Regions from separate parts of the Homo sapiens genome. Here regions 2, 3, 4, 5, 6 and 7 are each linked to region 1. Evidence: promoter capture Hi-C in human tissues and cell types (Jung and others, 2019). All regions are on one chromosome and are shown on one strand. The core of a region is centred on a gene start or on the middle of the fragment in contact, and the rest is flanking DNA. Distances in the headings are between cores, read along the strand shown.

Region 1 (4,227 bases), core at 638-3,137:
AAAGAGCCAGTTGATTTTTTCTAAGGGGTCTCTTATTACTACTATTTATTATTTTTATTTATTATTATGTTTTTCAAAGAGGAGTTCTGGCTGTGTCGCCCAAGTGGAGTACAGTGGTGCCATTATAGTTCACTGCAGCCTCAAACTCCTGGGCTCAAGTGATCCTCTGCCTCACCCCCTCAAGGAGCTGGGGGTAAATGCTCTGAGGCACTTCTAACTTGAAAACATGGAACTGAAGAGAATGCCCTTCCTAGCACCACCTGCTTTCTAAAATTGCCACTGGCAGATTGTCCCTGGCGTCTCGTTACCATCTGGGGGCCGTGCCAGGCTGACCATCGGAGAGACTTGGGCTCTGTTTTGAGCACAGCTGGGTAACAGAATCCTGCACACACTTCCACTACTGGCACCAAGTCTACTTGCATAAAACACTCTGCAGATCTACTGTGCTTCCATGAAAGGCGGAAAGGACATCCAACCTCTGTGAGAGATTTTATTTTATCACCTCCAAAATGATGTTTGCACTGCTTTTGCCAGCCTGGTGAAAGACAGGCCCGCCCACAAGCAGAACTGAGGCTCCTCGGTGTCTCTATGTATTAATGTTGCGGACACCACATAGGAAGAGAGAGTTGTGATGGGACCCACAGGAGTTGCAATTAAGCACGTTGTCAGGGCTACACGCTCTGCCCTTTCTCTGCTGGGAGACTCAGGCCAAGCTTCTTTAACATGTCTGAGCCTCTGTTGCCTCCTGCGTAGGAGGCGGGTCACATTTGCCTCTGAGGGTTTGCTGTGAAACATAGTTAGCTATGACTTTTAAGGCGCTAAGCTCAATGCCTGGCATATCGTAGCACTGTTAATTACCATTATTAATTATGTCCTAAGGAGGTCAAACGGCACATTATGAGTTACCAGCAGACATGAGTAAGTCGCTTGTACACGGAACACCATTTTCTGTATCTGTTAAGTAGGCGGGCATTCAAACTCTTTTGTCTGTTTCCCAAGTGTGTTGTGAGGATCTCATAAAGTTTTGGGCATGCAATTTCGAAAGGTGGCAGCCACGTTTTGAGTGCTTGTGATGTACCAGGCACGTGGCTACGGGGATGCCTTCATTCGCTCAGGGAGTGGTTCCTAGTGGCTGGTCCCTGACATCTGTGTGTGTGCTGGGTGGGGGTGTGGGATGTCTTCTTCCTAATAAGTGAATGAACTGCCAGGCTGAACGCCCTCGTTTTCTTCCCGCGGGGCTGGGGCCAGAGAGGGAATGGACGTGACGGTCTGTGCAGCCTGGTCTCCTCGAGCCGCTTCTCGACCCTTAGGTTAGCAAACATGAAAGACATAGACAAGCAGACGCAGGCTGCCACGTTCGTTCTTTCTCAGGGTATGCAGAGGTCAGGGTAAGAATCCACGGGTGTTTCTCAAAGGATGGCCTCTGGCCGTCCGCAGCGCAGTCGCCGGGGCTGGGCTGGCCTCGAATTTCCATCTGCCTGCCGCTTTAAAGAGCTGCCGGCTGAATCCGCTGCACACCCACGTGTGAGCACCTGAGAGTCTGCAGGATCTCAGAGGAGGGAACCGCGTCCTACATGAGGAGCAATCAAGGCCGGCTTTCCGGAGGAGGCGGCCTCTAGGACTGGAAGAGGAGGCGGGATGTGTTTCAACCGGCAATGGGTCCCGAGAGACCAGGGACTTGTTCACTTCAGTAACTCCAGGGCTTGGCAAAACGCCTGTCACGGGCGGCGCTCGACAATGACTAGCTGAAAGCAAGAGCGAAGGGCCTGGGAGCATCCCTGACTGTCCCCGGCGCGGATTTTACCCGCCCGAGCATGCGCGCCTGGGCCTCGCCCGCTCAGCCTCCGCCCCTCCTACCATCGCGCAGGCGCGGAGCGGGTGACGTCACTACGCGCCAGAACCTGCGCCGGGAAGCGTCGCACAGCGACTGCATCACCATGGAGCCGAGGGCAGGTGGGGGGCCTGGCGGGGCTCCGGGGCGGCTGGGAATGGGGAGGGACAGCCGGGACCGGTGAGGGTCGAGGCGGGGCCACCGGGGCTGGCAGAGGATGGGGCAGAATCACCGGAAGCGGCCGAGGAGGTCAGAGGGGGTCTGTGCTGGGTTCGGGTCGAACCAGCGGCTCTCTCGCCCGGAATCCCGAGAAAGATGTCAGGAAAAATAAAGATAACGAGAAGACGAGGCGGGAGGGACACCTGCCGTGCACGTGGGGGAGCCCGTGGGCCCCTTGAGGTCGGGGAAACTGAGGCTCAGGAACAGGATCGGAAGCCGGTTTGACCTACACGCGGGGGTCGCTTAACTACTGTTAAGCGGTTTCAGCATGGGCTCTGGAATTCCTTTGTATGTTATTAAGTGGGAATCTTTTGTTGCAGTAGGTGTCTCCAAACAGGACATACGTGAACAAATTTGGGGCTACATGGAATCACAAAATTTAGCTGACTTTCCCCGACCTGTTCATCACAGGATACCCAACTTTAAGGTACTGACATATTTCTGGAGTCCAGAAAAGGAAAACAAAATATTCTTAAATGAATAACACTAGTAATAAAATTCTCTTACTGCGTCATGGTGGATGAGAATGTGGCGAGCAGTGAGCAGTGGTGTGAAATCAAAGCCATTTGGCCAGGGCGTCCTTAGCATTTAGAGACGTCATTTACTCTTCACCTGGGGCCTCTTGCGTCTCTGTGCAGGGTGGTTTGGTTGTCTCTAGGTGAGGTTGTGTCCAGAATTGGTGGGTTCTTGGTCTCACTGACTTCAAGAATGAAGCCTCGCAGTGAGTGTTACAGTTTTTAAAGGCAGCGTGTCTGGAGTTTGTTCCTTCTGATGTTTGGATGTGTTCAGAGTTTCTTCCTTCTGGTGGGTTCACGGTCTTTGCTGGCTTCAGGAGTGAAGCTGCAGACCTTAGCAGAGAGTGTTGCAGCTCACAAAGGCAGGGTGGACTCAAAGAATGAGCAGCAGCAAGATTTATTGCAAAGAACAAACCTTCCACAATGTGGAAGGGGATTGGAGAGGGTTGTTGCTGCTGGTTCAGGCAGCCTGCTTTTAATCTCTTATCTGGCCCCACCCACATCCTGCTGATTGGTCCATTTTACAGAGAGCCGATTGGTCCGTTTTGACAGGATGCTGATTGGTGCGTTTACAATCCCTGAGCTAGACACAAAAGTTCTCCACCTCCCCACTAGATTAGCTACATACAGAGTGCCCATTGGTGCATTCACAAACTCTGAGCTAGACACAGGGTGCTGATTGGTGTGTTTACAATCCCTTAGCTAGACATAAAGATTCTCCAAGTCCCCACCAGCCTCAGGAGCCCAGCTGACTTCACCCAGCAGATCCCGCACTGGGGCTGCAGGTGGAGCTGCCTGCCAGTCCCGTGCAGTGCACCCGCACTCCTCAGCCGTTGGGCAGTGGATGGCACCAGGCACCGTGGAGCAGGAGCGTCGCTCCTCGGGGAGGCTCTAGCTGCACAGGAGCCCGCCGGTGGGGGTGGGGAGGCTCAGGCATGGCAGGCTGCAGGTCTTGGGGAGGCAGCTAAGGCCCGGCGAGAAATAGAGCACAGCAGCTGGTGGCCCAGGTGCTAAGCCCCTCACTGCCCAGGGCCAGCCGCTGTGAGTGCGGGGCTCCCCACGCCTACATGGAACTCGCGCTGGCCCACAAGCACCATGCACAGCAGCAGTTCCCGCCCGCGCCTCTCCCTCCACACCGCCCAGCAAGCTGAGGGAGCCGGCCTGGGCCAGTCCAGAAAGGGGCTCCCACAGTGCAGCTGCGGGATGAAGGGCTCCTCAAGCACGGCCAGAGTAGGCGCCAAGGCCGAGGAGGCGCCGAGAGGGACCGAGGGCTGCCAGCACGCTGTCACCTTTCAAGGTGGTGCTAGTTGCTGTTTTCTGTTTGATACAAAGTAAAATATTTATCCTGGCCGGAAGCATGTTATTGTCGTAATGGCTTTTCACAAAATTGACCCTGCTAAGAGCGTTAGGGAATGAAGGGGTACTGAACTGGAAGTTCAGGCTCTAGGCCTTTGGAAAGAAATGAATGCCTTGCCAGCCTAAGGATGCTGGGCCTCAGTTTCCCAGCTGATCAAAATGTAAGACAATCAAAGATGGCTGTTCCTAACAGTGTTGACAGAAAAAAAAAAGGTTACTCGGAAGAGGCAATGCAGCAGTTCATCATCTTTGACATGCCTATTTTCCAAGAGCAAAAGAAAGCGCTTTTCAAAAATGCTCTCTGCC
Region 2 (4,227 bases), core at 1,048-3,547, 510 kb after region 1:
AGAAGCCTCACATCCACCTGTGGGCCACACAGGGGCGGAGGTCCCGGCCTCACTGGTCCCTTTGTTTTGGAGCACAGGAGCCTGGAGTGCGCCAAAGGCAGGGCAGAGCCGCGGAGGCCTTTCTGCGGGTCTCTCCAGAGAGTTCTGCAGCATCCTAGGCTGGGAGCAGCCCCTGGGCAACGAGAGCTGCCCTATTAGGAGAGGACCTGAGCTCCTGGTGCATGAGGACCCCAACAAGGCGGCCCCGCCCAGGCATTGCTGGGACCAAAAGGCTCTGGCTGTCCAGAGTTCTCAGCTTCCACCACCAATTCAAAGTCGGCCTCGGGAACCTGCACACCCTCAACACAAGCAGGTGTTCCAATCCTGATTTGACAAAACGCTGCCACGGCCGGGTGTCAGGGGTAGTTCAGAGGTCAGAGCCCCCTGGATGCATCCAGCCATTCCCCATGTTGACCTCCCTGGGCATCCTCGGCCAGCCCTGAAGGAAAGGGCACCTCCCCAGGCTGGGACCTTGGGTCCCATCTGCACTTGACCATGGGGGCATCGGAGCTCGGCTTGTCGTCTGGCTCAGTGAATCTCCAGAAATCATGACAAGCCCCAGCATCCTCCGGCAGCTCCGAGGACATAAATCGTGATTTATTGCTGCTGCGCCACGTCCTTTTGTGTTTCCACACTGCCTTGGGAGCAATTCCTCACTATGTCAACAGCCAGCCCAGGAGGAGGAAGGGGGTGTGAGGAAGAGGGAGACAGGGCAGCGCGTGTGCCCTTCCCCCAGGGACCCTCTCCCCAGCGCGCTGCTGACCACCTCTGGCCAGGAAGCCCTCTGGCCCCCAAGTCCTCAGGAGGGGCTCGAGGACCCTGGTGTGACCTGGCTCCTGGGCCCACGGGAGGAGCCCTGGGTCTTCCACACTTCCTGTCCTCCCTGGCCCAGCCATCCTGGCTTTATTGGAACCAGTTGCAGATGAGTTTCCTTGAAAGGAAAGAGGCTGATGTCATCTGCCTCTGCTCAGCAGAGGAAATCATTATGGGGAGAGCTCGGCATTGGGGAGCCTTGGCCTTGGGCTGAGAGCATTGCCAGTGCCACCTCCCTGAGTCCTCACAACCACCCAGGAGGTCAACTCTATCACGGCTGCCATTGCACAAGAGACAAACTGAGGCACAGAGGGGCTAGGTAGTCTGCTTAGCATCACAGAGCTGGAAAGGCCCCAGTCGGGATTTCAACCCATGCTCTTCGGGCTCTCAGCAGGCCCCAGGTTGGCCCCTTCGAAATCTGGCCCCTTGGTTTCTGGTCCCTCCCCATGTATTGCAAATCCACCAACTCTCTCTCCTCTGGAGCTAGGATTCTGATGAGTGACAGTCCGCACCTTTCCACGTGGCGCAAATCCCCCTAGGGAATAAAGGAACATCAGCCACTGTTTGTGGAGCGCTTGCCATGTGCTGGCGTCGTGTGCTGTCTCCTTTGGTCCTAACAACCATTACCATCTCCACGCACAGATAAATAACACGGTCTGAGAGGTCAGGGGACTTGAGCAGGCAGAAGCACTGCCAGGAGGGCCTAAGCACATGATCACAGCTCCCACAGCCCCAGTTACAAACACTTACAGTTACAAAGCACTTATTCAGATCAGGGGTTGTGTTACGTGACTTACAGGAGTCACTCATCTGATGCTTACCAGTACCCCCTGGGCGTGTTGCAGGAAGCGATTGCTGCGCAACCTCTGAGAGGGTCTGGGACATCGGTGCTGCATCCCCTCCAGGTGCCTAGCTCTGTGCCTGGCATGGAACAGATGCTCAAAGAAGAGGCACGATTCTAACCTGCTCTTTGCCCTTTAGACACGTTCTGTGTCCCATGAACACACCTTAGAAAGATCAGCTTCTCTTGTGAAGCTACAGGAACAGTCAGCACCTCTTTCCAAAGAATAAACTCTCAGCACGTCTTGTCTGATCCTCTGCAACCCAGCAGGGCCTGAGGGTTTTGAGAAATTTGCCCACACTGAAGGCAGGTGAGAAGTGTGAACCATGGGCATGGATTTGTTCGGCAGGACTGGGGAAGCCCCCCACCGGCTAGGATGTTTCTAGACGTGGAGGACACCCCCGTGTGTTGCTTCAGAGACTGACCTTCTCACAAACATCTGTCGATGGAATGTCTGCTCCTGCCTTCTCCCCGAGTCTAACTGCTATTATAGCTAATGTCTAATGATAGCTAATATCGAAGGATAGCTAATGTCTAATACTGGGCCTCTTGCTAGGTGACATTATAGGGCAGTTCCCGCACAGGCTCCCAGCCGAGCTCTCAGGGGCTCATTTCACCCTCACAATCACTCTGTGGTCATCCTGTCATTGCCTCATTTCACAGACAAGGCAGTGAAGGCCATGAGATTCAGGTGCTCGCAGGGACAGAACCTCGTGTTCCTCACCACTAAGCTTTACCTCCCCCCAGCAGCTCAGGGGCAGTGGCTCCCCACCACTGGGCCTGGCGCACAGGAGGCTTTCTCAGCACCACTCTCCCCAGCTGAGCCCCGGCAGCCTTGGATACCACCTGTGTTCATTATGCCCATTACACAGAAGAGGAGACCAAGGCACAGAGAGGTTCCAAGTCCTATCCAAGGTCACACAGCTGGTAAGTGGCAGAAGTGAAAGCAAATGCCTCGATTAGGAACCTGCAGAGACTCTCAGGTCGTTCGTACTCAGTAAATACTTGTCGAGTGAACAACGAATACGTGAATGGAGTATAGCTGTGCTCACCACTGATGCCATCCTTTCATCATTACTAGAGCTGAGGAGGTGTTGGGCCAAGGGGAGGATGGCCCACTGGCATCCTGTGGCACATACTGCAGGCTTGGGGGGGTAGGAGAGGCAACAGCGCTGCCTACTTGGCCATGGGGTCCCTGGGGCAGCATCACCCAGCAGTCATTGCCGTGAGCCTACTGGTCATTGATATAAGCCCAGGTGTCATCACCATGGACTCAGAGGTCATCGCCATGGACCCAGGTGTGTCATCACCACGGACCCAGGGGTCATCGCCATGGACTCAGTGGTCATTACCATGGGCTATGAAGGCCTGGGCTCTCCCCAGCTCTGCCATTTATTGGCTGGTCAACATTGAAAAAGAAACATCTGTGCTTCCATCTCACCATCTGCGAAATGGGGTAATAACCCCCACCCCTACCACACCAGGTGGGGAGAACCGGATGAGGCGGTGACAGGTGGGGAGAATTGGATGAGGCAGTGACAGGTGGGGAGAATTGGATGAGACAGTGACAGGTGGTGAGGACAGGCGCCCCCCAGAGGTTGTCAGTGATGAGGGTGTGGAGGCCTCACAGGCAACTCCAAGGGGAGCTCCTTGACCACGGGGCTTTGTCTGTCTGAGCACACAGCAGGGTGCCTGGCACATAGGAGGCAACTCTGTTAGTGTGGAGAAAGGGAAAATGCATTTACAAGCATAGACTTTACAGCCACTCAGAACCGGGTCCAAATCCTGCCATAAAACTCACTGTGGGTCCCCAAACAAGCAGCCTGGCCTTTCTGATCCTCAGTTCCCCTATCTCTAAAATGGGAATAATAGAATCTACCTCCCCGGATTGTCTTGGAGAATAAATGAGATCAATGCATTTGTGCATAAGTAGCAGTTAGGATTATTATCGCTACTATTATTAATCAGAGTCCCTTTGAGAACTCATGAAAAACACCCCATGTCTTTTATCTGCCTAAAGCTTTCAGCTTCCCACGGTGCCAAAAGACAGGTTGGGAGTGGCAGGGAGAAGAGAGAGGAAAGAAAGGGAAGGGAGAGGGAGTGGGAGGCGCCCTCCTGCCAGCTAGAGAGAGTGCGACCATCTCTGGGAACCCGACTGGCGCCCAGGAGCCAAAAGGCAGAGGCCAGGCCGGGGCAGGTTTTGATGCTCTATTGCCCAGGGGTCACAGATGCGGATCTGATAAGACCTCTCCACTTCCTCCAGGGAGCCAGCGGCAGGGGAAAAGGAGGCTCCAGGCAGGGAGAGAACAGCAGGACTGTGCCCCTTCCCCCCTCCCCCTTCCGGGCAGAGTGGCGAGCCCAGGCCCGGAACTGCCTGGGTCCAGGGGAGGAGGGAGCGCCAGCAGGGCTGAGAGCTGACATTTAAAAATTGAGGGTGCAACTGTCATCCTAAGTGTACAGTGTCCATGTATTTTTACATGCAGATACACCCATATAGCCCCCTCCCAGATCAAAAGACAAAACATTTCCATCTC
Region 3 (4,227 bases), core at 1,288-3,787, 490 kb before region 1:
TCCAGCAACATTCCACCCCAGCAATATGGAAGTGCTTAAGCAGGGTTTGCACCAGGCAGGGTAGCTGAGATCTGAACCTTTAAATTACAGCCATTCCCGGGCTGAGGAAAAGTAAATAAACAGTTCACAGCTGCAGCCAACTCAACACAGAAACGGGCTATCTCTTCTGATTGCAGGGCAAGTAATTAAGTGAGAAATGTGAGCCCTGCAGTCAGGGTGAGATGGTAAAGGTCTGGAGCAGTAAGTCCACCCAACTCCAGAGACCTTCCGATTAACCCTCGCAGAGCCAGGAGGGGAGAGGGACGCGCAGGCTTGGAGGTGAAGCCCAGATGAGGGGCACTGGCTTTGTGATTGTCAAAAGCCAGCTAACTATAAATGACCTTACCTCGCTGTGCTTGGCTGAGGGAATACGCTGAGGGTGAGAATCCGCGTTCTCAGCAGTCCACCCATGGACGCACGTCTCAACAGGTACTGTCTCTGTTTACTCATTATAGGCTGAATTTTGTTCCTGATAAATTCCTGTGTGGAAGCTCTAGCCCCGGGCCCTCAGAATGTCACCATGTTTGGAGATAGGGTCTTTAAGGAGGTGCTTAACTTAAAGTGAGTCATTGGGCCCTAATCCAATGACTGGTGTCCCCATAGAACAGGGGATGAGGACACAGACACATACAGAGGGATGACCATATGAGAACACAGGGAGAAGATGGCTGCCTACAAGCCAGGGAGGGAAGCCTCGGGAGGAACCAGCCCTGCTGGCACCTGATCCTAGATGTTCAGCCTTGAGAATGATAAGAAAGTGCATATCTGGGGTTTGAGCTGCCTGGTCTCACGACGTGGTTATGGCAGCCCGGGAAAATCAGTTCACCCAGCTCTGCCTGCATGCAGAGAGCCACGTGTGCTTTAGAGTAAGGGCTGACAACGACGTGGTTCACGGGCTGTACCAGGGCCCAGCGAGGTGTGTGTGTGACACGCAGCTTCTCACACCAAAGCGGTAGCATTCCCATTTCACAGATGGGGAAACTGAGGCCTGGGGAGGTCAAGCAAGTATTCCAGGGTCATGTAGCTGGAATCTGTGGACACAGCAGGTGTTCTCAAACCTGGCTTCACAGTGCAGTGGCATGGGAAGCCTTAACAGGCACTGACTCCTGGGCTCCAGCCCACACTAAGGGAATCAAATTCTGGGCAGCAGTTTTCAGGGCGCCCCAGGCGATTCTCAGGTATAGCCAGGTGCATAGCTACTGCCTTGTACCTCATTCGTCTGGCTGGCCTTAAAAAACAAATAAAGTACGTTAGCAGTGCCTTCCGTCCCATGCGGCAGCTCCCGTCTCCATTTCCCCTGGCAAAGTGGGTTCACTGTGTCCCTCACACTCATGGTGGGGCAGCTTGTGTTTCTGAGACCATTAGCACGGGCTCTGGAGCCCAAATGGCTGGGTTTGAATCCAGTCTTTGCTACTCATTTGCTGTGTGACCTTGGGCAAGTGGCTTGGTCTCTCTGGGCTTCAATTTCCTCATCTGTAAAATGTGATAAGAGTACGTACCTTGTAAGGTTGTGATTCACCAAGTTAGCCTTTGTAAAGTGCTTAGAGCAAGGCCTAGCATGTGGAGAGTGCTGGAAAAATGTTTGTTACAAACAAGACAACTGTCTCCTGTGCGTACCCTGGATGATGAGAAGCTGGGGAGATGGGTAGGAGATGGGAGACAGAAGCCAAGCCTGAGTCCACGCCGTGTTCCCTGGGGACCCGCGGCATCCGACACAGGGGAGGCCTCAGGAAACTTTAGCGTCGAGGAACAGGTGTCGTTTGTGCAAGGTATTCGGCACCACCTCCCCGCACCATGCACACCCCGTCCCTGTGGGAGGGATGGCGAAAGCAGCCCCTTCTGTTCCTGTGGAGGTCGTAGAGGGAGGCGCACTGAACCTGTGATGACACCAGCGTGGGTTTCTCCTCCAGGAGGGAGGCTTGACACCGAGAACCGGGAGGTTCCCTGCCTGTGAGTGCTGGCGGCAGGATGTGGATAAGCCTGTTCTTTTGTACTTGGTATATTCTCCTCCTCTTCCTGCATGAATGAATGCATATCCCTTTCGTTATAACAACGTAGTTTTGGGTGGGGGCTTTTTGGTAAAAAAAAAAAAAAAAAAAAAAAAAAAGGATAATACAGAAGTTGACTGAGTTACTTCAGGCAGATTTTTCTCTGGGGCATGTTTTAGCATTTCCTTGACATCCTCTGCAGGCTGCTCCAGGCCTAGGCCCCATCCTCACCTCTCAGAGCACACACCTGCCTGTGTTCTGGCTTGTGGTTCAGGAGCGGACAGCCATGTGTCACCTGGCTGTGGGTCTCCAGGAGCCATTGCAGGGGACCGGCCACACGGCCATATTCCAGAGGCCCTGAGCCCGGAGGCACTGACTGCATGGAATCATGGATCTCTGGGCTTGTGGGGCCTCGGGGACCTTGTGCAGAAAGCACTTCTTCTGGGGGGTTGGGCGGGCAGGAACACATGGCTTCCTTACGTGAGCCACAGTTCGGGTCCAACTGGGAGGGGCTCCCAGAAGAGGCTTGGGGACAAGAACAGGAGGGACCCTGGACCCTCTGCACTGTGAGCTCCCTCAGCAGGTCTGTGGCCCGTGGAGACGGCCCAGGTTTCCCCATTCGCTGGCCAGAAAGTGCAGAAAGGGAACTGCCGGAACCCCAAGTGTGCCAGCTCCAGAGCTGCGTTCAGTCCCAGCCTGCCTCCTCAGCTGACTCAGTTCTGCCCCGTCTCCTCTTCTGTGAAATGGGAATAAGAGCAAAACCTGCCTTAGAAAGAAAAAGGCTGCTGGGCGGATTAAGCAAATTAAAACAGGGGATGGTGCCTGCCACTTAGTCAGGCATCTCTGGTGTCAGCCCCTGGTACGATCTTCATTTGCTTTGTTTGTTTGTTTTTTGAGACAGTCTCTCTCTCTCTCTCTCTGTCACCCAGGCTGGGGTGCAGTGGTATGATCTCTGCTCACTTCAACCTCTATCTCCTGGATTCAAGTGATTCTCCTGTCTCAGCCTCCCGAGTAGCTGGGATTATAGGCACACACCACCACGCCCAGCTGATTTTTTGTATTTTTAGTAGAAACGGGGTTGCCCAGGCTGGTCTCGAACTCCTGGGCCCTAGAGATCCACCTGCCTTGGCCTCCCAAAGTGCTAGGATTACAAGCATGAGCCACTGCACCTGGCCTAAGATCTTCATTTGCTTTCTTGTGACGGCTCTGAGTCGTGTCCACGTGCAGGGGACCTGGAGACTCAGGAGGGTGATACATTTACTCAGCTCTTCAGCCAGAGGGGTCAGCCCTGGAGTAGGTGCTGGCACCTAACAGGAAACGAGCTGACATTCCACCTTGGGACACATAACATCTTTCGAGGGAGGCAGCCGTCAGTCAAACGATCACAGGAAGGGATTATAAAAAAATTCTGAGGTGGCCAGGTGGGGTGGCCGAGTGACTGAGCTGGGGTCTGAGGGCAGTGAAGGAGTTAGCTAGGAGATAGGAGAGGAAGTGTCCTGGCAGAGGGAACAGCCTCTGTGAAGAGCTTGTTCCCCTTCAGAGGAACAGAAGGAAGCCCTCTGTAGCCGGCACGTGGAGAGGGAGGCTGACACGGCTGATTGTTTTCCACCCTCGTTTCCCCCTCCCTTCCACAGTGAGAGTGTTTAACTAGGCAAGCTACAGAACACGGAATGCTTTTCCCAGGCTTTTTGACGGCTGATGTGTGTGTAACAGGCTGCGTGTGTCTTGAAGTAAGAGAAGCCTTCTTGCAGTAGCTGGGTGGAGACACGGTACCGAATCGCTATTGTGTGGGTGGACACAACCATTAACAAGAGAGGAAAATCCTGGTGATTTCAGAGAGCACAGCTCAGACCCTTATGTGAAAAAAACAAATTCCACCAGCACTTTGTTGGAGCCGCTGCTCCCGTGGTGCCTGTGGGTGCAGCTGAATCCTGGCTGTAACGCAGTGCACTTGGATGCTGGGGCTGGAGGCGGTGGGCAGGAATCTCCGCTGCACCAGCTCTTGGCATGATCTGGGCTCCAACCCTACTCCCTGGTGCCAAACAACATGCTCTGAGGTTGTTTTATCACTTAGTTCAGCCCAGTCTGGCTTCAGTTATGCTGGGCAAATGCTCTCGTCTGATAACCTTCTAGGTCACAATATGAACTGTGATATTTTTCCAAAAAGCCATGGGAAGCCCGGGCGAGGTTTGTGGGACTA
Region 4 (4,227 bases), core at 1,248-3,747, 480 kb after region 1:
TATGTAGTAGGGGCTCTGCCTTTCCAGGAACTGGAGTTGTCCCAGCTCCCGGGCACCTTTCTGGTGGGCTGACAGATATAAGGCAGCTGGGTGAACATGGACCTACCCCACCAATCAAAATCTTGATGATCCTACAGCCTAAATACTGAATGTGTCCCCCTTCTCCCATCCCCACCAAGGGCAGGGACTGGCTCTGTGTCATCTGCAGCTGCATTTCCAGGGCTGGCACCACGTAGCTGTATACATTCAGGTAATGCCAACTGCTACACCAAGACGACACACGGCAAGTGTACCCACTGTGCACGCTGAGGTTTATCCATGTTCTCAGCATCTCACAGACCATGGGGCGACTCCAGGCTCCACCACTCGCTGGCTGTGTGCCCTTGGGCAAGTTACTTAACCTCTCTGGGCTTCAGCTTCCTCATCCGTAACATGGGAATGCTGCATAGCACTGACGTTGTAGGATTACTGTGAGGATTGAATGAGATAATGTATGTAAAGGGTTTGGCCCTAAGTGCTCTGTTGTTCTTGTTTTGTGACTGTGTGTGGGTGTGTGGTTGAGTTCTCTGTGGACAGAAGCTATAAGATTAGTTTTAAATTTCCTCCCGTCTTCTGGAGGAAGGTGCTCTCTGGTAGATGGGCTCTGGGGCGCCAGCCAGGGGCAGCACTGGGTCTCTGTCACATCCCATCATTTTCCTCTATTCTGTTTCTCCCAAATCTCAATGTCCTGTCACAAGTTTATGTCTCATGCGTGGACCCTTCCAATGTGGACGTCCCTCTCAGACATTAGCCTTGCCACATGGTGACTCAAGAGCCTGGGCTTCTTCCAGATGGGGCCTTGCTGTCCAGGGGATGTCAGAGTCTTCAGACAGGAGAGGGGAAAAGACAGAGAGTTGTGGTGAATACAACACACTTCCTTGGTGAGCAGCAGCAACCACCTTCTTCTCACCCATTCTCTCAGCAAGAACCAGTGGCCTGTTCCCACCCAGATGCAAAGACACCTGGGAAACACAGCTCCTGGCCAGACAGCCACCCACTAAGGACAGCTCCGCACATGCACACAGGTGCCCACGGCCAGCTGGCCATAGGTGCAGGATAAACCTTTGCTTGGTTCATTCATCAGTGCACCAACTAATGGAAGACCAAGCCAGCCACTCGGAAGAGACTTCTTAGGCGGCTGTTGAAATGTTGAGCTGAATCAGAAACCCGCATGATTAAACCGTGCGAGATAAGGATCTGGGGGAGAGTTCTCTGCTGACATATCCCCCTTTCGTGACCACTCTCCTCCCCACATGTCACCACCAGACGGATCACCCAGCCGGGGGCCTCAGAGGAGTCCCAAAGGCCAGCACCCTCAGCCTCTGCCTCTCCCAGATGGAGAAACAGGCCCAGGGTGGGATCACAAGGCAAATTCGTGGAGGAGGAGCCAGGCCCGGCTGCCTGACCCCAGGCCATCTCTGGGGCCAGGGACAGGCCGGGCCCTCATTGTTCAGCTAATGACTGCAACCCCAGGCCTGTGGAGCGTCTGTGTGGGGCCGCTGTATAAACATTTCCTCTCTGGCAGAGCAGGAAATGAAGGGATGAGGAGGTCAAGTGACTTCACTGGGGCTACTGCTGCCCTGCCCACCGTCCCCGCCCATGCCTGCCCACCACCCTTCCCAAGTCCCCTGAGTCGGGTCAGAACCATAGCCAGGCAGGTGTCCCCAGTCACCTCCAGCACCCCAGGCTTGATTCTTGCTCCGCCACGTCCTGGATGGGTGTTCTTGGGAAAGTTGCTCAGCCTCTCTGAGCATTAGATTCCTCACCCACTGACGCCCTTCCTCCTGGAGTCAGGTAGTAAGGACGAAATGACACTGTGTGGCGAAGCTTCTGGCAGGGGCCTGGCCGATGGTGGCCTCTCAGTGCTTTCCTGCTATTGTAAATTCTCTTTGATAAAAGAGTGTTGACTGGGTTGCACGCTTTAAATGGTTAATTGTATGTTATGTTAATTTCACTCCAGTAAAAGAAAAGATTTGTGTTTTTCTCCACTGTCTGCCCCTCATCCCACTCACACTCACTCACACACTCGCAGACTCACTCGCACACACACTCGCTCACACTTGCATACTCATATACACACACTCGCACATGCTTGCACACTTATACACACTCATCCTTGCACACACTTATACACACCTACACACACTTGCACACTCATACACTCATACACACTCACTCACTCACATAAGCACTAGCAGATCCACTGTACCCCAGGAGGGACCTACAGACACAGGGTGGACGCCGAGATAATTCCCCAAACTCTCTCCCTGGAACCCCACTGACCTTTTCAAGGGGCTGTCAGAGGAGAAATGAACTCACTGGATTAAGGCAGAGAACAGGACTCAGGTGGAAGAGGCCAGGCTGGGGGCATTCTGATAAGTGGGGAAGAGGAGAGACATCAGCCCCTAGGACCACACCCAGACCTGTGGGGCCGCATGTCAGGGAACCCTGGACAGTCCTGGGCAAGCAGGGGCAGCCAGGGTGGGAGGGGGGCTCTCGAGTGAGAGGAGAGAGTCCACCCTTGTCTGTTATCACATTGAAAACTCACACCTCTGCAAAGGTGGACTATGTCCTCAGCCTGTAGCTGGGTAAACTGAGGCTCAGAGACACAAACTGACCTCAGATCACATGTCCAGTTAGTGGTAGCGCCAAGAATCAGCCTCAGTTCCGCTCCACACCCAGAGATAAAGGTGAACTGCAGATCCGCCTAGGTCCACGATATCCGACATAATTAAGCTTTCAGAGGCTTGTACTGCCCGAGGCACCCAGGCTAGGAGCCTTCCCCTCTCCTTTGACTCTGGACTTTTGTGCTAAAAGGAACTTCAAGAGGAGTTAATATGGCATCCCATTTAACGGAAGAGTAAACGGACCAGAGAGGTTAAGTGATTTGCCCAAGGTCTCACAGCTAATTAGGACCAGACCAGACCCACAGCACAGGCTTCCTGCGTGCCCCCCTTCCCCGCCCTCCGCAAGCGGGGTGACTCCCAGGCTCACTGCAGGTGTCTCCAGGGCAGGTCTGCTCCCACAGATTCCGTGACCATGACACCTGCAGGCATTGCTGGGCTGCACCTGATCCATCAGACCTTCAAACACCTGTAGAAACCGAGGTCCATTCCTGAGCTCATCAAAAATCTAACCCACGCCCCCCGCAAGTCCTTCAAAATTCTGGAAAGAGAGAAGGTTTTTTGAAACCTAGAAGGAAACAATTGCCCAATTGCCTGTGCATCAAATCAAGTGATTTTTTCCCCCACTCACACGGACTGTGGGATTTTTTTTTTTTTTTTTTTTTTTTGAATCTCCCATCAATTTCAGAATTTCAAAGAGGAAAAAAAAAGTGAGCCCTTCTGGGCAGAGCAATTCCAAGCGGCTGGGAATCAGCTGCCCTCTGCTGGACAAACGAGGATGTGGCCAAGTTGATGGTTCTTGCTCACGGGCGACTTAAAGAAATATCTGAGCCCCTTGGCGATCCCCAATATTATTTCAGATCCAGTTCAGATCCAGCGTGATAGGATTTGTGCTTTTTATAGCAGCTGGATTTGTATTTTCTGAAAAACTAACAGCTACCCAGAACCCAGAACTGCTTTTAAACTATAATCGCGCCTTTATTGGGCCACTGCTGTCTGCTGAGCCCTGTTCTAGGCACGGGGTATGCAGCTGTGGCCTGGACGGAGTAAACCCCGCCCCGTGGAGGCTGCCTGTTCTAGTTGGGGCCACAGACGATCAGCAAATTAACAAAGCAATTAACAAAAAAGCCAGGTGGTTGTAAATGCTGCGAAAAATAAATCTCTGAGGCAGGTACGGAGTGGTCGGGGTGATGGCTGATGCTGTGTGGTGGGGGCAGGGGGGCAGGCAGGCAACTCTGAGCCAAGATCTGAATGCAGGGAGAGCGGGAGTCACCTGGCGGTCTGGGGGAAGAGTGCTCCTGGCAGAGGAAACAGCCGGTGCAAACGCTTGGAGGATGGGGTGTTTTTGACTGGTTGAAAGGAGTGTAAGAGAGGGCCAACATGTCTGGGACAGAGGGACAGAGGGGAAGCGGGGAGAGAGATGGTCAGGGGCCATCTCAACAGCCCCCGTGGACATTTAAATCAGAGTTAGGTCCCAGTAAATATTGGAGAGAATCACTCCATCTCCGGGTGATGCTCTGGCTTTTGTGAATTGAGGGACTCCTTGAGGATGGGACCACAGTGG
Region 5 (4,227 bases), core at 1,176-3,675, 440 kb before region 1:
GCTGGGTGAAATGGGGCAGAATCACGTCCTTTTGGAAAACAAGGAGCTGCAAGGTAGGCTAGCCCGGCCATCGCAGATGTGGCCTGGGACTTCAATACTTGTCCCTCTCGCTGCCACCCACGCCCAGTCGTTTCCAGCTTCTAGTGAATGTAATACGGTTGTGTCCATAACCCCAGGCTTCATCCCCCACCAGAGCCCCTCCAGGCAGGAGAGCCATTCCTCTACAGGAGCCTCCCTTCATGAAGGGGGAAAACCTTTCCCCACCCGGCATCCCCGGAAGCTTCCCCAACCCTGTTGGCGGGAGTTTGGGTTTGGATGCTCACCTCAATGTGAAGGCATTGTTGGAGTCTGGTGGAGGCATCTGCATTACTAGCCCCTAGAATCTCAAGAAGGATGGTTGGGAAGGCTGGAAAGACCACATCTAAAGCTCTCAGCACAGTGGCGCGTGCTGTCTTGATGCTCATTCTTGCTTTGAAGGTTGCTGTTGTTTCTCATTCCCTCACCCAGTCGGCACATCTTGGTTGAGCGCTTGTTAATGGCATGAACTGTTATCATCGCTTTACACATTGTAACTCACGATCCTCCTCACAGCAGGGCAGAGGAGCGATGGTGGCTTCTGATTTCAGAAGGGGAAACGGGCACAGGATCTAAGGTGTGTGTCTGACCTTGCACACAGCCGGCCAGTGGTACGCGGGGATGCAACCCAGGGCGCGGTCCCCCAGCCACCGCCTTGCCTTCCCCCGTGCTGGGTTGCCTAAGCTGGCTGGGCTTTCCCATTGCTTGCTGCTTCCACCACCTTGACCGCATCTGGTCCCCATGCTGAGGGGCGGCAGACGTCATTACCCCAAGGACAGATTGGGGCCAGCAGTGAGCTGTCAACTTCTGCCCTCCAAAGAAATCCGGGGCTTGCCTGACTAAAATCCATTTAAGAAAATTAACCCTGCGACTCTCACTCTGCTTGGATTTTGTGGGCGGCAGGAGCTGCAAAGTACTTAAAAGGTGCAAGGGCAGATTAATGGAGTCCATATGCCTGGATTCTAAGGGTCTCTGTGCTGGGTGGGCTTATCAAGTCTCTTGTCATAACAAAGGGTGGGACAGTTCAAAGGACTGGCTCTCTCAGACGCTGGGCTCTCACGGGGGCTCCTCTCCAAACCCCGCTGTACAAATATTGTCATCTTGCTCTTGCCTGGAGCCCTTGCCTCTGGCTTTATTATTTTTTTTCTCCTTTTTACCCTTTGACAGTGCAGTAGGGCACTTTGTGAGAAATCTTCCTGTAGAAGGACTGACTTATCACTCCACTTGGGAGTGAAACGACCTCTGGTGATCCCTACCTGGGCTCGTGGGGCTGCAGGGAGGAGCAGCCCAGGGCACTGGTCCAGCGTCCAGCGTGACTGCTTAGAGCTCACAGCCTGCACCGCGGGAGGCACCTCCCTCATCTACACAGTCCCGGTGGGGAGGATGATGAAGCCATTGTTGGAGCATGTCTGCTGGGGCGGAGCAGCAGGCTGGACCCTGTCAGCGGGGTCATTATCTGCCCACTGGCTCGAGTGACAATGAGTTATCATCATCGGCTGTTCTGTGGGAGACACATCAGGCCATTTCTTGCAGATTCTTGGGAGTGGGACATGATTTGTCCAGATTGGATGTCTACAAGTGCCTGGAAGATGAGATAATCTCCAGCTCTCTGCACACAGACTGAGCTTCTCCTGGCCAATGACTCAGCTGTGGTCTGGACTGGGGGGTAAATGTTTCCTGGTTTTGACAATGCGTTTAAGTTACAGGCTTAACTTCCAGGCTGGGTAAACGAGCCTTTAAAGAACTCCCAGGGATCCAATATTTAACCAGAAATTAACTAGCATTTCCAGAACACCCCCTGGCCACAAGGCTTTTTACAGAGATAGGAGATAATACTTAATAATAGTGTTCCCTATTTGTATTTGATTTGGATAAAGGGTCCTGTGTTCTGAATTGTCCACTTCCTCCAGGAAGCCTTCTTGGAGTATACCAACCTCCGAGTCAACTCTTCTCTCCCTCTTGCTCAACATCCAACAGTTGCCCAATCCTGTTGGTTCTTTCTCCATCACTCATTTTGGGTGGGTGGGAAGTTGCGTGTTTCAGAGGTAAAACCACACTTCTCTGAGCCTTAGTTTCCAAATTTGTAAAATCAAAGAAGTGATAAAAGTCTTTGCAGGGAGGCTTAGTAGATTAAGATGAAGCCGAATTGTGGGGTAGATTCTGGCCCCGTGGGAGCTCGGCAAGGCGTGGTTTCTGCCGTCCGCTGCTCTGCTGCCACTTCTCTGTGGAGCGGTGTTCATCTGGACACTTAGGTTTCCTTCCTGGGTCTAGACGAGCTTTCATGATCGTCTTTTGTCCCACACGTGGCTTTCGTTCCCCCACCATCCTTCTAATCCACCCCTGCTCTTATCTTGGGCTCCCCAAAGGCAGCCGGCAACTTGCCCGTGGAGCAGTGGTGGGTTCCTTGGGAGGTTGTCCAGGGCGCATGGGTTCAGTGGCAAGTCAGGAGGAGCAGGCTGTGCGATTGACGTCGCTGCTGGGGCACGGGGTGCAGTCCCACCGTGACCTCCTAAGACGTGCACAGAACACCTCCTAGAATTGTCTGCCCAAAAGGAGTACTTATCTATGGATCTCGTCCCTTCATGGGTCAAGCGCTGACTCCCCACTTCCCTGCGGTGATGTGGAAGGCCCGAGGGGCTTCCTCAGCCTCACGGCACTGGAGAAGTTCTGGGAAGGACTGGAGACCAGCGGCCTGTGCTTGTGGCACAATGAGCCAGCACGGAGGGGCTGGAGCCTGCATGGACTGGTCCGCCTGGCTGCGGCGAGGCCAGCTGAGGTGGGTGGTGGGGGGTAGGGGGTGGATGTGAGCTGGCAGCGGCTGTCCTGTCTGTCTCCTTGCTGCTGATGAATCTCCCCGCCTCACAGGCCTGTCTCCTGCCATCTTCCCGCTTATAAATCCTTCTGCTCATCAATGTTTCCCCAAGTATGTCAAAAAAGAGCTCCTGCTCCAACAGGGCTGAGAAATGCTGCATTAAGCAAATCTAGTTGGATTCCTTACTGCAGGACTTCTCAGAGGCTTGACTCTGTTAACATCATATTAAGAAGGAAGTGGGGGGTGTAGCTTTTTCTAAATGTCTTCATGATGAAGCTCTTACCTTCTAGGTGTGTATTACGAGACTCAGGTTTCCTGGAGAAACGCTAGTATGTAGAAATGCATCCAAACTCCTTTATCTGAAATGTGAGGCCCTTCATGATCTTGGGGCCAGTGGTGTTTTCTAGCCTTATTTTCTCCCATTTCTCTTCCCACATCCTCAACTCTGACAAACTCATCACGCCCCTTAATTTCTGGCCTCTGGATCTTTGCTCATGCTGTTCCTTCCAGCTGGAATGACATTCACTCTCCTGGGTCATGCTCTCTTTCAAGTCTTTGCTCGATTGGTGCAACTTCTCCAGGGCTGGCTCTGAAATCGGGCAAGCCCTGAGGCCCACCACCCAGCCTCTGTTACAGTTTTTTACACATAGATCTCATCTGCCCTACTAAACCATGAGCTCTGCAAGGGAAGAGTCATGTGTGATTCACCACTTAGCCAAGTCTTTCTGTAGCAGTGAGGCTCTGCTATGCTATGCCGCCCTAACAAACAGCCCCCAAATCGCAGTAGGTAACACAACAGAAATCCAACTCTCACTCATGCCAAGCCCACTGCAGTTTCAGGCAGCCCACCAGGGCAACTGTCCTCGGCATGGTGACTCAGTGGTCCAGGCTGATTCCCTCTCATTGCTCTGTCTTCCCAACATGACGCTTTCACACTTGCCAGAGAGGGGAGAAAGCACACAAACTTGAGAGTAAGACAGTCCTGCACGCTCTTTTATGGCTGAGTCTGGGGATGGCCCAGGTACGTTACCGTGCTGACAGCCCACCCCGAGCCACTCATGGGAGACTCTCTCTAGTGACGGGAGAGCTGAAAAGCACAGTCTTCCTTGTGGCCAGGGCAGAGGGAACCTTGCATTTGTGCTCATTGGCAATGTCTAGCATGCCCATTTCCCTTTTCGTCGCGTGCACACCCCACTCTGGCAAAACCTTCATGCCCTGCACTAGAAGGAGCCCTCAACACATTTACTCAGTGGTGGATAAATGCAAGGTGACCCCTCCTGTCTTTGGAATTCAGAGCACTTGCAGCCTGAACCATTCATTGGGCATTTGAACAAATGTTG
Region 6 (4,227 bases), core at 812-3,311, 420 kb before region 1:
GTGGAGGTGCCAGGCCACAGAGCACACGGATGCCCTGCTTTACTAGAACGTGTTGCCTTCAATGTTCTCGGCATCCCTGAGATGCGATTCAGATTATTACTGGGTTTTTACAAACGAGGAGCCTGAGGCTCAGACGGGTGAAATGATTTGCCCAAGTCCACTCTCAGAAGTTGAGGAGTTGGGTTTGAGCACAGGAAGTCTGATTCCAGATGCAGACAGTGAACTTTCCACCACCTCGCTACCCTGGGACAGACACTTTGGCCCCAGTTAAAGGTGAGGCCCGGGTCACTCCTGCTCTGACAGCCTTGATCTGTGTCTTAAAGTCACATCTTCCTCTCACGAAGGGGGTCAGTCTCTGAGGACACAGTCCTTTTGTAGGAGAAAAAAAAAATACTTTTAGCACAACCGTGATCAAATCTAGGCTGAGCAACTTAGTAGCTGTGTGACCCTGGGCAACTTAATGCAAGGAGATAACTGCAGATAAACCACACACTGCAAAGCTGAATGCAGGGACACCTTCTAATAGTCTAGTCAAATCCCCACATGAAGAAAACTTTGCTTATAATTAAGGAAAAGTTCCTGAACTGTGGGAAGCAAGAAAACATTTGTCATCCCTTTTCTTTGTATGTACTTGGGAAGATTGTTCCTGTAAGAGCTGGAGATGAACACTGTATTTCTTGCCAACCCTATTATTCTGGGGTGGGGCATGTGACTGCAACCCACCATTCCCTGTAGGACACTGGGCATGTGATCCCCCAGGGATCAGAGCAGATCAGTCTCTTGCCCTGAATGAAAAATCAGTCCAAAGATTATTCTCTCCCTCTCTTTTTTGCTTATGTGCAATATCTCTATCATTTCAGATTGGAAGTTACCAAAGTGTTTTGTATGGGTTGTGAGGAGGTGAGAAGAAAAAATAAAAAAGCCATGGACATTTGGGGACTGTGGGCTCACATGGACTTTAACGGCTTTCTTTGCTGCAGAGCTTTTCAGAACCTTTAATAAACTAATCCACATTGACATGTGGCGGATATCACAGGCAGCATTTACTAATTCAAGCAGGGGATTCTGTTTTCCATTCTGTTTGTGGAGTGTATTAGTTAGGATACAAGTCTGGCATCTTGACAAAGACTCAGGTTAACAGTGGCTTGAACCAGACAGACAGTTCTCTCTTTCTCACAGAAGCATCTGGATGCCAGTGGTCCAGGGCTGATGGGGTCTTCTCTACCTGGTGACTCACAGACCTAGGCTCCTGCATCTCCCCGGTGTTAGCCTTGTTGATGTGGGTGATGATGATGACTCATCATCACCACATTTGTGCTCCTGCCAGCAGGAAAGGGCTAAGGGTGGTGGGACCAAGCCAGCTTTCTTGGCCTCCCGTCCATTCACACCCCACAGCCCTTGCCTTTTAAGGATATTTCCCAGGAGTTGGACCCATCACTTCCCATTGGCCAGAATCCAATCACATGACACACCCAGCTGCAAAGGATGCTGGGGGATGTAGTTTTTTCTGGACAGTCATGTGCCCAGCTAAAGTCAAGTGCTCTAACACTGACCACAGCAGGGGAAACAGACTTTAGAGGAAAACTAGCAATCTCTGCTCTATGGGGTTGGTGGGTCATGGAACACAGTTTAGGAAATGGTGTTCTGAGTGTATATAAACCAGATACGCGAAGGACATTGGTGGGAATAGAGGTGCCAAGCATCACTTGCTGAGAATTGGAAAGCCCACTTAGGACACAAGGTTCTTTAAGATGTGTCAGAAATGCATAATTGTACTCTCAAAGGAAGTGAAGATCAGTGGTTGCCCAGGGCTGAGAGTGGGGTGGGCAGTGTGACTGCTAACGGGCATGAAGTTTATTTTATTGTGATGGAAATGTTCTAAAACTAGACCGTGGCACTGGCTGTGCAACTCTGTAAGTATACTAACATTCATTGAATTGTATGCTTCAAATGAGTACATTTTATGCTGTTTAATTATATCTCAATACATCTGTTAAAAACAAAAAAAATTAAAAAGGAGTTGTTTACAATTATAATAAATCTAAAGGACAGATCTTATAGACGAATTTTAAAAATGTATGCATCTAATTGGGTACATTTGAAGCATCTTGACAATCTACCAATTTCACTGTGTTTAGAACAACCACTCCCTGCCTTATCGCCAGCAAAATGACTTGTCTCCAGAGCAGGGGTCAGCACCCTTTCTCTGTAAACAGCCCAATAGCAAATATTTTCAGCTGTGGAGTCATAGGGTCTCTGTTGGGACTATTCAATTCTGCTGTTTTAAGCAGCCACAGACAACAAGCGAGCCTGGCTGTGTGCAGACAAAAATGTATTCTGGATGCTGAAATTTAAATTTCATGTACTCTACACACGTCATGAAATAAAATTCCTGTTTTGATTTTATTGCAATAATTTAGATCTGTGAAAAACGTTCTTAGCTTGTGTGCGGTGCCAAAGCAGTTTTGCAGACACTGCTCTGTGGGTGTGCCCGCACATGGGGGTGCTCTGCCTTCTTTTCTCCCAAAGTGCAGCTAGGAAAACACTCATCAAAGGAGCCAAACCTGTACCAAGTTGACTTTCTGTATCCTTTGTCTGGGCTGCACCAGAAGCTCTGTCAGCAGTTGGGGCTGGGCTCAGCTGGCTGACTCTTCAGCTCTGTGTGGGGTCAACTGGGATCACTCAGTGATGTCAAGCTGATGGCTGGGCTGGGTTGGAGAGTCTGGGGCAGTATCTCTCACAAGTCGGGAGTCCTGGCCTCAGCTGGCCTCCGCCTCCACATAGTCTCAATGTCTCTCCAGCTGCCAGCTGGACTTGTTAATGGCAGCCAAGGGATTTAATAAGTGTTTAGTGAGGCCTGTGGGGAAGCCTCAAGCCTTAGGACTAGCCTCAGAGCCTGCAGCCTCCTGCTGGCCAAGCAAGTCTCTCTGGCCAACCCACACTCAAGGGGAGGGAAATTAGGCTTTGCTTCTAAATGGGATGGGAACGTGTAGCCACCTTAGGAACCCTTCCAGAAAGCTATTCGCTGCTGTAGCTTTTTAAGTGTCTGTGCTGATGCTGCTCTGAAGTGAGGATGGCAGGCTGGGTTTCCAAGACAACCAACCTGTCCTTAAACCCCTGACTGTAAGAGCAGGAGGAAGCTTTGGGCTCACACGTGAAGTCCAGCCTGCTTGTGCCTAGAATGCTGATAGGCTGGGACCCTATCATGCTGGGTGGTATGATGGTCTTCCCAGTTGCTGATGGCTTCACTTAGTTTCCTGTAGCCCTGAAGTGAATCTGTAGGATTCTCTCCAAACACCTAGAGGCACCTGCCTGTTTGGGATCAGGCCTGGTTCTCCACCCTTCTGCTGCTTCTCTGTCGGAGAAGTGTCCCATCCCCATTCTAAAAAATTTAGAGTCAAGTCATTCTTATGCTTAAAAACAACAACAACAAAAGTCAACAAAAATTAACACCTTTCCCTTACATATGTTGCTTTAAAGTTTCTGCATTTTCTTAAAATAAATGTCTTTTCTTGTACTTTAAAATTCATCCTGTGCATTATAGAAAATTAAGAAAACCAAGAACGAGGGCTAAAGAGAAAGGCACGTTGCAGAGAGTGTGGACTCTTCCAGCCTGCTTATGTTGCTGTTGGTCTGTAATTATGGTCTTTCTCCAAACAGAATGCTGCATTAACTGATCTTTTAAATGTGTTTTCGATGTCCTTATGTTTTAATATCCTGAAGTCACCTCTCCTCTTCCTTAGGAAAGAAGTAGTATTTAAACTGATAACAAATACACCAGACAAAATGGAATTCACTGCAGAAAATTAGTTTTGCAGATATCTTCATGAATAAATCCTGAAGCTCCCTTGCTTCATCCCACACCAAGGATGCTAGTGTTGAGTCCATCTGTACTAGGGGCACAACCTCTAAGGGTTCTCGGCATTGACAGCAAGGAGAGACAGATGCAGTCTAGTGTCGCTAGATGAGGCACCCAGAATTGACCTTAAAGGACAGATGGAATACAAATAGCAAGAGGAGAGAAAAAAAGAATAACAGCCATGATAATAATGGAGAAAAAAGATTGTGTATATCATAGGGCTGTTCATTCATTCATTGATTTATTCATTCTTCACTCACTCATTTACCTAGCCATCATCCATCCATTCATCATCTATCCATCTACCATCTGTCTTTGCTTTCATCCATCCACCCACCCATCCATCCATTCATCTATCCATCCATCCA
Region 7 (4,227 bases), core at 1,065-3,564, 340 kb before region 1:
CTTTCTCTAAACAGCCACTACTGTTATACAAAAAACAGACGACCTCCCTGCTTGGATGTGAGACCAAAATATCTATTCCCGGCGTACCTTGAGAGAGAAATCAAAGGGGCTTGTTTACTCCCAAATGAAAACTTGCAAAATTCCAAATCCTGCAGGATTGGCTTATTTCACTGTGAGGAAAATGCATGCCGAACAGCTCACAGTAAGCCTAAATGTTTGTTTACTGAGATGGCCCCCCCCGGTCAGGAATCAGATATTCTGAAATGCCAGGGCAGGCAGGGGCTGGAGTCCGCCAGCTAGGGACAGGCACTGTGCAGTGAGGGAGGGTCTGGGGCTCCCACCGTGCCCATCCCGCCGTCCTGACCTCCCTGTTTCCTCCCTCTTCTCTCCCTCTTCCCAGGGAAGGTCTGCAGACAGGGCGGGCTCTGAGAGGAAGTCTCCTTTGTTTCTCCCGCAAATGTTTTCATTAGAAAGCTGGTTCTCTTCTATATGTTGTCCCTGGCCCCTCGCAGAACCAGTCATCGGGTTTCAGGACCACGATTTGAACAGCTGCATGTGCTAATTTGATCAGGTATCTGACTTGGGGTCCCAGGGAGGCCATGGTGGCTGCCCTGTCCTGTCCTGCAGGCACAGCCCCTGGAAGTATCTGCCCTTCTGCAGACAGCTGTCCATCAAAACAGCTCCAGCCTGAATATGGGAGAATTCCAGTGTGGTCCAGCTTATAATGTAGTCAATGATGCCCCAAGGGAAAAAGGAAGGGAAAGAAGTAGTGACCGCTTGACTTTCATTTTTCTTTCCTGTGGGGTCTACAGGACCTCCATTCTGATACGGTTTTGGGGCTGGGGTGGCTGACAAGGGGCACAGTTGTTCCCTAATCGATGCCAACAACAACCTGTAGAAGATCCCCCATGCCACCAGCTTCTTGTAGCGGGTGGGACTGGCCCCTGTTATGCACATCTGAGAACCCTTTCTAGAGCTGATATTCACGTCCGGGGCCACTAACAAATGACCACATAACGAATGACCGCAAACGGTGGGGCTTACAGCAGCAGAATCGGGAGTCTGCCATCGAGATGCGGGCAGGGCTGTGCTCCCTCTGAGGGCTCCAGGGCAGGACGCTTCCTGCCTCTTCCAGCTTCCAGTGTCCCTGGCTCTTCTTGGGATTCCTTGACTCCGAGGTGCATTACTGCGGCCTCTGCCGTCTTCACTGTGTGTGTGTCTGTGTCCAAATTTCCCTCTTCCTATGAAGGCACCAGTCCCGTTGGATTAGGTCCACTCTCACCCCATATGAGCACATCTTGACCCAATTATATCTGCAAAGACACTGCTGCCAGATAAGGTCTCCCTCACATGTGCCCAGGGTTAGGACTTGAGCATAACTATGCGGGTGACACAATTCAACCCGGTACAGAGCTGTTTACCACAAGGGCCCTTTTCACATTGATTTCACATTGTCTCAGTTTTTCCATCTGTGAAATGGGGATAATAGTCACATCTTCCTGACTGGGCTAATGTGGGGACTGAATTGGCTCAGAGACGTTGCGTGCTTAGAGCTGTGTTGGACAGGCAGCAAGCACGACGTCAGAGGGCTCTGCTCTTGATCTCATCATCAGCTGCAGGCTTTGGACAGCACAGAGGGAGAGGGTCGGGGGTGGACGCAGGCCCTACTCCATCAGAATAAGATCCATACCTGTAGTGTGACCTTCCAGGCCGGCACCACGTAGCTCCCGGACCTCACCCTGCACCCTCTAGCTGTACCTCATGGTGCCTGGCACGCGGGCCTCTGGTCCTCATCGTGTGGCGGGGTGGTGGCTGCTGCCTGGAACCGTTGTCCTGAGTTCTTGGAGCCCATCAGGGTGGGCTTCCCTGTCCTGGCTTTGCTCCCCTGTGCCTCTTGCCCTGGCTGCTGCTGCTGCCGGCTGTTCCCTTCAGCACATGCGCAGTCGGTGCCTTTGCGCAGGGCGGAGTTTGCTTGTGCTCTGATCTGAATGCGTCTAGACTGTGAGTCCCACGAGGACAGGAGCTGCGTCTGATTTGTTCTTCTCTGCATGCCCTGGCAGTCGGGAGCTCGAAGTAGTCTTGGTACCCGTGCCTATGAATGAGATTGGACTGCTCGGTGAATCACCTGAAACCCTTTCACCGATGGGCGCTGTGTTACAGGGGCAGCCTCCATCCTGGGGGCAGCCCATGAGAGGGGCAGATGGGCAGGGAGGCTTGGCATGGCTCCCCTGGCTGTATTTTTCCCTGTTTTATTTGCTTTTATTAAATTTTTTATTTTCAAAAATGTGAACTTGTAGAAAAATGGTCAAATATTACAATGGCCTGCTATATTCCTTTGGCTGATCTCACCTGTCGCTGGCATTACTCCTGTCGCTGAACTCCCCTGCAGCTGGGCTCACCTGCGGCTGGGCTCACCTGTGGCTGGCATTACTCCTGTTGCTGACCTCCCCTGCAGCTGGGCTCACCTGCGGCTGGGCTCACCTGCGGCTGGCATTACTCCTGTGGCTGGGCTCACCTGTGGCTGACATTTACTGCACTTGCTCTTTGCTCCTTCTCTGTCACCATCAGCATCGTCATTGTCGTTGTTTGTTTATTTTTGGTGAACTCTTTGACGGAACCTGTGGAGGGTGTGTCCCTCGGCTGTGAACACATCTGTGTTCTCCTGAGGACAAGGACGTTCTCCTACATAGCCACAGCACCAGGGTGCTCTTAGCTGGTCTTCCTATTCAAACATCACCATTTGTCCCGATGCTGTGCTTTGGGGCAACTTTTGCCTTCCCATCCAGGCTTCAACCTGGAAGCACACCTTGCATTTGGCTATCTCCTTTGTCTTCTTTAATCTGGAACATTCCTCCATCTTTCTTTGTCTTTACTTCATTGGCATTTTGGAAGAGTGTATGGACTTGCATTTTGCAGTTTCACGTCTATGTGAGTTTGTTTGATTGGATTCAACTAAGGTTTTGTATTTTTGGAAACCTGGTGTTTTTAAAAATGGGGGAATTATGTATTAGGTAAAATATTTTCATCTTTTACAAATTCATAAACTTGGCAACATTGAGCCCCAATTCCCACTTGGCATGTTATCCACAATGTCCCCCTCCCAGCCCCCTGACCCAGGGCTATGAGTGTGTGAGCCCTGATGTCATGGTGGGAGGGAGCCCTGGAGGGGGACAGGAGGCTGGTGCCTGGGCGGGGCCCCCTCTTAACTCACCAGGTGGCTCTGGGCATGCCCCTCACTTCTGTGGGCCTCAGAGAACAGTAACAGAGAAAAAGTTTGATGAGAGTACATCTCTCCAGTGGCAGAGCCCAGAAAATATGATCCTTTCGCTCAAAATCCATGGAAGTCTATAAATAGATGCTCCCACTGCCAGAGAGAGGGGTGTTGCGAAGAAAGATGACACCCATGAGCATGAGCAGCTGGGAGGTTGTGAGGATTTGTGCAATCACAGGAGGCATGGGTGATAACATGATAATGCCGAGAAGTGGCTCTGTCACTCATCCAGGGAGGGCTTATCAGCCACGCTGATCTTTCTCAAGAAGTCGGAGACTGACAGCTTCCTGAAATGAGAGTATCAGTCCCAAAGACAAGGAAGGTTGTGCACATGCGGGTCATGGAGGGTCTTGGCTAGGACAAGCCCCACCCCAACCATGCTTTGCTACAACCTACCTACCCACAGTCAGAGCTGAAACTTCCGAAGTTTAGATGTGGTCAGGCTCTGTGCTGAGCAATCAGCTGGTGTGATGTTCATCCATTTTGAATAAATACATGAATGATTGCATACGTGTAAAGCAGCTGGTTTCTTAACTAACTCTTTGGCTTACTCTCCAAATAAATGTTTCTTAACCTTCTTAAACAGATATCCCCTTTGAGAAACGCAGAAATACATCCCATATTATATGTGATTTATACATCCACTCCCCCAAAGGGCTATGGAGAATATGTCCTCACTAACCATTGTGATCCCACCTAAAAATCTCCACCTGCCAAAAACACTATGTTACTCTGTGTTTTCAAGTTATACAGAGAAAAGTTATTTTCCCTTACATTATATAATATCATAAAATGGAATGTTTGAAACTTTTTAGACTTTAAATCTAACTGGATTGCTGTCCGTCCTACATCTCCACTCTAGTGGTTCAAATTGCCCGCCCTGAAGGTGGGGGAGTGCATGGTCCCTTCCCAGCGAGCACCTCACGCCTAAAGCTTTAGGATGGGGAACCCACCCA

What was found. The method cuts DNA at HindIII sites, captures the fragments that hold promoters and counts their contacts. A contact is called where the count stands out against the background at its distance.
Region 2: a fragment that was not itself captured here is called in contact with the fragment with the promoter of MTHFSD in region 1 in 2 of the 25 tissues and cell types used here (lymphoblastoid cells and mesendoderm cells).
Region 3: a contact is called between a fragment that was not itself captured here and the fragment with the promoter of MTHFSD in region 1, in 3 of the 25 tissues and cell types used here (IMR-90 fibroblasts, aorta and lymphoblastoid cells).
Region 4: a fragment that was not itself captured here is called in contact with the fragment with the promoter of MTHFSD in region 1 in 5 of the 25 tissues and cell types used here (IMR-90 fibroblasts, dorsolateral prefrontal cortex, lymphoblastoid cells and 2 more).
Region 5: a contact is called between a fragment that was not itself captured here and the fragment with the promoter of MTHFSD in region 1, in 2 of the 25 tissues and cell types used here (IMR-90 fibroblasts and mesendoderm cells).
Region 6: a contact is called between a fragment that was not itself captured here and the fragment with the promoter of MTHFSD in region 1, in 2 of the 25 tissues and cell types used here (IMR-90 fibroblasts and lymphoblastoid cells).
Region 7: a contact is called between a fragment that was not itself captured here and the fragment with the promoter of MTHFSD in region 1, in 4 of the 25 tissues and cell types used here (H1 embryonic stem cells, IMR-90 fibroblasts, mesenchymal stem cells and 1 more).

Annotation. Positions count from the first base shown.
Region 1 is chr16:86,552,895-86,557,121 of GRCh38, reverse strand. It overlaps MTHFSD (methenyltetrahydrofolate synthetase domain containing), which reads left to right and starts at 1,887. Exons shown (of 8, transcript NM_001159377.2): 1 at 1,887-1,953; 2 at 2,371-2,477. The coding sequence starts at 1,938. FLJ30679 (a long non-coding RNA gene) reads right to left here and starts at 1,802. Exons shown (of 1, transcript NR_026674.1): 1 at 1-1,802. RefSeq lists enhancers at 1,605-1,894, 1,935-1,984, 2,953-3,615, 3,616-4,227 and a silencer at 1,817-2,030. The HindIII fragment of the contact is 6,717 bases long and covers 1-4,227 here.
Region 2 is chr16:86,048,144-86,052,370 of GRCh38, reverse strand. LOC105371389 (a long non-coding RNA gene) reads left to right here and starts at 3,034. Exons shown (of 2, transcript XR_933854.3): 1 at 3,034-3,177. It overlaps LOC105376778 (a long non-coding RNA gene), which reads right to left and starts at 2,916. Exons shown (of 2, transcript XR_933855.2): 1 at 2,746-2,916. RefSeq lists enhancers at 719-1,353, 3,444-3,944, 3,945-4,227. The HindIII fragment of the contact is 4,718 bases long and covers 1-4,227 here.
Region 3 is chr16:87,043,261-87,047,487 of GRCh38, reverse strand. No RefSeq gene overlaps it. Among named protein-coding and RNA genes, the nearest start is that of LINC02181, 12 kb to the left of the region's middle. The HindIII fragment of the contact is 6,740 bases long and covers 1-4,227 here.
Region 4 is chr16:86,072,209-86,076,435 of GRCh38, reverse strand. No RefSeq gene overlaps it. Among named protein-coding and RNA genes, the nearest start is that of LINC01082, 120 kb to the left of the region's middle. RefSeq lists an enhancer at 1,292-2,060. The HindIII fragment of the contact is 3,693 bases long and covers 651-4,227 here.
Region 5 is chr16:86,992,217-86,996,443 of GRCh38, reverse strand. No RefSeq gene overlaps it. Among named protein-coding and RNA genes, the nearest start is that of LINC02181, 63 kb to the left of the region's middle. The HindIII fragment of the contact is 6,483 bases long and covers 1-4,227 here.
Region 6 is chr16:86,972,792-86,977,018 of GRCh38, reverse strand. No RefSeq gene overlaps it. Among named protein-coding and RNA genes, the nearest start is that of LINC02181, 83 kb to the left of the region's middle. The HindIII fragment of the contact is 4,609 bases long and covers 1-4,227 here.
Region 7 is chr16:86,891,960-86,896,186 of GRCh38, reverse strand. No RefSeq gene overlaps it. Among named protein-coding and RNA genes, the nearest start is that of LINC02181, 160 kb to the left of the region's middle. RefSeq lists an enhancer at 54-836. The HindIII fragment of the contact is 7,684 bases long and covers 1-4,227 here.